Linked DNA regions of Homo sapiens: region 2 is linked to region 1. Evidence: promoter capture Hi-C in human tissues and cell types (Jung and others, 2019). All regions are on one chromosome and are shown on one strand. The core of a region is centred on a gene start or on the middle of the fragment in contact, and the rest is flanking DNA. Distances in the headings are between cores, read along the strand shown. Region 1 holds the start of HSPB8 (heat shock protein family B (small) member 8). Region 2 overlaps SUDS3 (SIN3A corepressor complex component SDS3).

The links. The method cuts DNA at HindIII sites, captures the fragments that hold promoters and counts their contacts. A contact is called where the count stands out against the background at its distance.
Region 2: a contact is called between a fragment that was not itself captured here and the fragment with the promoter of HSPB8 in region 1, in 1 of the 25 tissues and cell types used here (IMR-90 fibroblasts).

Annotation. Positions count from the first base shown.
Region 1 is chr12:119,177,339-119,180,345 of GRCh38, reverse strand. HSPB8 (heat shock protein family B (small) member 8) reads right to left here and starts at 1,415. Exons shown (of 3, transcript NM_014365.3): 1 at 667-1,415. The coding sequence starts at 1,033. RefSeq lists enhancers at 1,063-1,812, 2,992-3,007. The HindIII fragment of the contact is 13,927 bases long and covers 1-3,007 here.
Region 2 is chr12:118,387,153-118,390,385 of GRCh38, reverse strand. SUDS3 (SIN3A corepressor complex component SDS3) reads right to left here. Exons shown (of 12, transcript NM_022491.3): 5 at 440-459. Among named protein-coding and RNA genes, the nearest start is that of SUDS3, 12 kb to the right of the region's middle. The HindIII fragment of the contact is 6,770 bases long and covers 1-3,233 here.

The DNA of each region.
Region 1 (3,007 bases), core at 166-2,665:
GGTGGCCTTGAACAAGTTACTTTAATCTCTCCGTGCCTCAGTTTCCTCATCTGAAAAAAGAAGATAAACAGTACCCACCTCCTCTGGTTGTGGTATTAGCTGAGATATTATAGGCAACAGCAGTTAGCAAAGTGCTGAGCGAATAGTTAGCACTCAGAGTTACCAGTTAGTGTTACTACAATTACTGGTAAGCCTCAGTTTCCCTGTCTGGGACAAGGAGAGGTGTTTCACCGGAAACCAGTTGCGGTTATTAACACTATCATTGTTCAGCCTTAACGTGCACTTCTAGACTCTGTTATGATGCTGGAGTGCACAAAATCCCGTTTCTTCTTTGTTTTTTAATTCTTTGATATCTGCTTAACCTATTCTTTATATTAAATGCCCTCTGTCAAAATATCCAACATGGTTTCTATTTTCCTGTCTGTACCATGATTGATGAGCACCCAGAGGCCCCAATAGCTGAGTCAGGCAGGTTAAGATCTCTGCTGGGAGCCGGGAGAGAAGTTTTCCGTAAAGATAACTTTGCAGGCTGCATTCCTGAGCCCTGAGGTCACCTGTGTCACACTGTCCCAACGTCAGCTCCCAGGAAACTTTCTCTGGCTATTCCCAGGGCTGAGGGCTACATCCCGGCCTCCCCATTCTCTCTCCCTCCTGCCCCTGACTTACCAGACACCTCCACGTATCCATCTTTGGTCTTCACCATCAACTCCTCTGGCTTGAAGCTGTGCACATTCACACACACTTTCCAGGGCTCCCCAGGGAAGGGTGGGGGGGTCCTGCCCTCGGCAGGCACCCCAAACCTGGCGGTGGCAGTGGGGCCCCGGGGCACCATGCCCGACCTTAGGGTGCCTGGCCAGGCGGAGGAGAGACGAGGCAGAGCCCAGTCGGGCCAAGAGGCTGTCAAGTCGTCTGGGAAGGGGTCCATGCCAAAGCCATCATCCAGCAGGCGAGAGGAGAGGGGAGAGTCCCGGAAGGGGTCTCGGCGCAGGCGGCTTGGGTAGTGGCAGGAGAAGGGCATCTGACCGTCAGCCATGGTGGCTGCTCAGCTCAGAGAGAAACAGAGGCTCAGAGAGACAGAACCACCTGCCCAAGGTCACACAACAAGGTGGTGTGGCTGGGCTAGCTTATTCTTCAGCTTCCGAAAATGCTGCTTTTCTGCAGGGAGAAGCAGAACCAACCACTGCCAGGGACGGTTGTGTCCCCTCGACTGGGGTCCCAGCCCCCAAAGGTAACCCCCGGGGCAGATCCAGCAGAATCCCAGAGGGTCCCCGTCCGCACTGCCTCACGACAGACCGGCAAGCCACCGTCCTCCCAGGCTTCCCAGGCTGCCCAGGCTGGCAGCCAGAACCGCTGAGGTCTAGAGCGGAGCCAGGAGCTTAATAAACCCAGGGCACGCGCGCCTAGAAACTTCTTCTGGCTCCTTCTGGGCTGCAAGCCTTCTATTTATTTGCTGCTGGAGGCTGGAGGCGGGTTTTGCAAGCGTCTCCTGTCACAGGAATATTCGGAGGTGATGAACCAGCCCCGGAGAATCCGCGGAGGGAACAGCTGGGCTGTGGGGGGAGCTGGGAGGGGCCGCGTCCAAGTTCAGCCGGCCTCTCCGGACACTCTCTCCTCCCCTGGCCACTCCGCTCAGCTCCGCCCTCCTCTTGCTCCAGGAGCTGGAGCCGCCCTCCCCGAGCGGGGCACTAAGGCCTGGCTATTAATAACCCCGAGCCTGGCTGAGGGCTCAGGTCACCCTCTGGAAATACCTTCCCTAGAGCGTGTCGTATCCTGCCTTTCCCCTGGGGACCTGCAGAAAGGGAAGAGAGAGACAGGAGCCCAGTGGATTTGAAGGATGGCCCTGGGTTGCAATCCCCACTTACAAGATGGCCAAGCTCCTAGAGCCTCAATGCCCTCTGGGGAGATTGGTAAAGGAAAAAAAAAATTTTTTTAATGTGTATATATATATTCATATGACGCTTGTTAAAGTATGACAAGCAAGACTTTACTGGGCAGGGAAACTTTCTCCATAGATGTAGGGACCCCTGCAATGGGATTTTGCAGTGAGGGAGAAAGATTAGACTTGATTCCCAGTAGGTCATGGGTAAGTGTGAATTTGTAGCCAAGAAGCAGGTGGGGGGTCAGCGAATGGAAATTTACTAGGAGGGAAGTCCAGGAGTCAGAGGGATTCGGGCTCAGCTAACCTAAGAGGATTCTTGCTGAAGACAGGCCAGGGTGCTCAGACATCACCTGGGGGACCGCGGAGGATGAGGAAACTAATCAGATATCGAGGGTGATCAGAAATCGAAGATGGGTGGTTGCTACTAAACAGACTTAGCAGAGTTCATGCCAAAACTGAATTTTTCTTTCTTTCTTTTCTTTTTTTTTTTTGAGACAGAGTCTCACTCTGTCCCCCAGGCTAGAGCGCAGTTGCGCCATCTCCGCTCACTGCAACCTCCGCCTTCCAGGTTCAAGCGATTCTTCTGCCTCAGACTCCCGAGTAGCTGGGATTATAGGCACCCGCCATCGTGCCCGGCTAATTTTTGTATTTTTTAGTAGAGTTGGATTTCACCATCTTGGCCAGGCTGGTCTTGAACTCCTGACCTCATGATCCACCTGCCTCCACCTCCCAAAGTGCTGGGATTACAGACGTGAGCCACCTCGCCTGGCCCAAAACTGAATTTTTATAAGGAACCTCACTGATGGGCTTAGGAGAAGATTCAGAAATCCGATTAATGTTTGGTCAATCAAAGCATCTTTATAGGCAGTAACATTATTCCCAGGCACCTCCAGGTTGTTAGTTTTCCTCCTTATAAACGGACATAACAGTAGCCAACTCACAGATGTACCATGAAGAATACATGAGGTAATTCTCTTTCTCCTTGTATTTTCAATTTTGAGTTATCAATTACATAATGTTTGCTATATGCCAGGCCCTGCTCTATGGGCTTTATAAATATGAATTCATTTAACCCTCACCAGCAATCCTGTGAGGTAAGAGTACCAGTATTATCCCATTTTACAGATG
Region 2 (3,233 bases), core at 352-2,851, 790 kb after region 1:
CTGACACAGAACCAGCACTCAGGTGTCCATGGAATGAAAGGAAAAATTAGAAATCTGTCTTTTTTTACTGGCCCAGAGAGTTGCAGCTGTAAAACAGAACTGCTGAGCCAATTCAGAGATTGAACTGCTTCAAGGACCAATATCAAACTATTAGGCCGTTATAACTCAGAGACTTCCAAACAGCTCTAACACGGGATAGAAGTCAATAAGCAGTTAGGGATGAGTATTCCTTATTCCCCTGTGATAAGCAGAGGCTGCGCAACAACAAATGACCAGACAGGATGTCTGAGCTGAGACCAAATGTCCTTAAGTCAAACAGAACAGTGGTGAAGGCTTCCAAACTATCTACTTGGTGATAGAAGGAAAAGCCACCAGATCAGGACTGCAAGATTCCAGTCTCAGACAGGGCCTGCAAACCCAGAAGATCCGTGGTACTTACTTCCAGCTGGAGGAAGAGTTCTGCAAGAGATAAAAAGTGCAATTAGATTTGCTAGGCTGTGCCACCTTTCTAGACAGTGATGTTAGCATTCATTTAGAAGCAGTAATTGCTTTCTGAAAGCATGTTACAAAGCAAATGTTTTCATCAGTGAAATGTTGATATACACGAAGGGAAAGGACATGACAAGTACTCAAGTCTAGTTAAAATGTGACCCTGCCAGCCTGCCAACATGGCGAAACCCCATCTCTACTAAAAATATAAAAATTAGCCAGGCATGGTGGCAGGCGCCTGTAATCCCAACTACTCGAGAGGCTGAGGCAGGTAGGAGACTCACTTGAACCTGAGCGGCAGAGGTTGCAGTAAGCTGAGATTGTGCCACTGTACTACAGCCTGGGTGACAGAGCGAAACCTGGTCTCAAAAAAAAAAAAAAAAATGTGGCCCTGAACATATCAGCTGTGGCAGTTCTGCCTGAGGGCAAAAAACGTGCAGCAGGAACCAAACTCCCCTGGCAAAATAAACTTATCCCATCTTTCACTCAGTCCACCCGCCAACAGTCTCCACAGTGGCAGGATGGGTCAAGAAGAAATAATGCAATTACTCCAGAAACAGAGTGGATGTGATGTTTTAAAGCAGTGGTCTCCAACCTTTTTGGCACCAGGGACCAGTTCGGTGGAAGACAATTCTCCCACGGGCTGGGGCAGGGTAGGGGGGCAGGCGGCAGGTGGGGGAAAGCAGCCCAGTGGTCCGCAGCCTGAAGGATGGAGACCCCTGGTTTTCTGGGGGGTTCTGGTTTTTTTGAGACAGAGTCTGGCTCTGTCACCCAGACTGGAGTGCAGTGGCATGATCTCGACTCACAGCAACTTCCACCTCCTGGGTTCAAGCAATTCTACTGCCTCAGCCTCCCAAGTAGCTAGGATTAAAGGCGCAAACCACCACACCTGGCTGATTTTTGTATTTTTAGTAGAGACGGGGTTTCACCATGTTGGCCAGGAGGGTCTTGAAATTTTGACCTCAGGTGATGCGCCAGCCTCAGCCTCCCAGAGTGCTGGGATTACAGGCGTGAGCCACTGCCTACGGCCAGGACCTCCTTTTTAAAGCACTATATGAAGGGCTATATGTGGTAAGGAAGGACCTCCACAGATAATCCATAGGACAGAGGCTCCAGGGACACCTGGGGCTTCACTGTCAGGCCACCAAGCTCTGCTCACGCTGTCTGTCCCTGCAATGCCCTCTGACCTCCTATTCACATTCCCAAGTTCCTGACTGAATGCAGCCCCCTCCTGAGGCCTTTCCTGCTGACTCTTCACACATCATGCCCTTCAGATGCCTTAAAGCACCCATCTAACAGCACTCAACAACTTAGTTAGCACCTACCATGTGCCGGATGATTAGTAACTGTTACCTAGCAGCTCCCCTCACCACTAGATTTACAATAGAGCACAAACCTGTCTACAAACCCGCAACTTGAAGCAAAATTGCTCCATGGCTTCTACTCTTTCCTGGGTGACAGGGGGCTGTGCGTACAGTCCACAAAGATTCTCCAGGGTGTGCTATTCTCAGTCTACCAGGGGCCCCTTTGCAAACCTGGCAAATGCTATGGACCCCTTCCCCAGAACAAAGCACATATACAAACTCCACAGAATTCTGACAGTTCTAGGAACCCCAGATTAAAAGCCCAGATGTTAACAGTTGTTGACAGAGAAAATTAACTGAGGAAAGGGACAAGCCACTCATTATTTTTTAGCCCCCAGAAGTCCTACCCACTTTGGCACTGGGAATTGCTGGGCATAGGAACCCAGGCACACCCAACCCAATGTGATCATTCCTATAACAGCTTCAGATCTGTACCATGCACAAGTGGGCCAGACAGCTGAAGTCCTGTGCCATTCCGAGAAATCATGCCTTGCACCAAGTCAAAATGACAATTAGCACTTAGAGGTGGCAGTTGTTTCAGTTAAAGCAGCCAGACACCACTAAAGCAGGTGGATCATCTCTGAAAAGAATGTGCTTTTTAAAGCTCAAGTCGTGACTGATTTAGGAGCTCTTCTGCATTTTTACCTAGGAGAGAGAAATGTGAAAGAACACATGAGGGCCGGGCACGTTGGCTCACACCTGTAACCCCAGCACTTTGGGAGGCCAAGGCGAGCCGGGCGGATCACCTGAGGTCAGGAGTTTGAGAGCAGCCTGGCCAACATGGTGAAAACCTATCTCTACTAAAAATACAAAATTAGCCAGGTGTGGTGGCAGGCGCCTGTAATTCCAGCTACTCAGGAGGCTGAGGCATGAGAATCGCTTGAACCCAGGAGGTGGAGGTTGCAGTGAGCTGAGATAGCGCCACCACACTCCAGCCTGGGTGACAGAGTGAGACTCTGTCTCAAAAAAAAAAAAGAACACATGAGGACATGATTGAGAGTCTGAGCAGAATGAAGAAAAACAACTCAATACTCACTCTGCTGTTCTAACTTCAGAAATATGACTCACATCCATTTTCTTTCCTTACTTCCATCTTATGCCAGTTCCATGAGGTATTAATATTCCCCTCTACAGATGGAGAAATTGAGGTTTCAAGAGCAAATATTCTGCTTAAAGGATCAGATCTAAAGTGAGGAGGCAGGACCTCCTTCCACAAATGCCACCTCCTTTATCTGCTAAAAGGGAAGTCTAGGAAGAGCAACCGGTTGAGGATTTTCAAGACATCTCAAGGAGGTGCTTCAGGAACTCAGAGTAGAAAGGGGGTAACAGCAGGGAGAGGTAGAAGGTGGAAAGGCAGACAGCTAATAGCTGGGGCTCCAC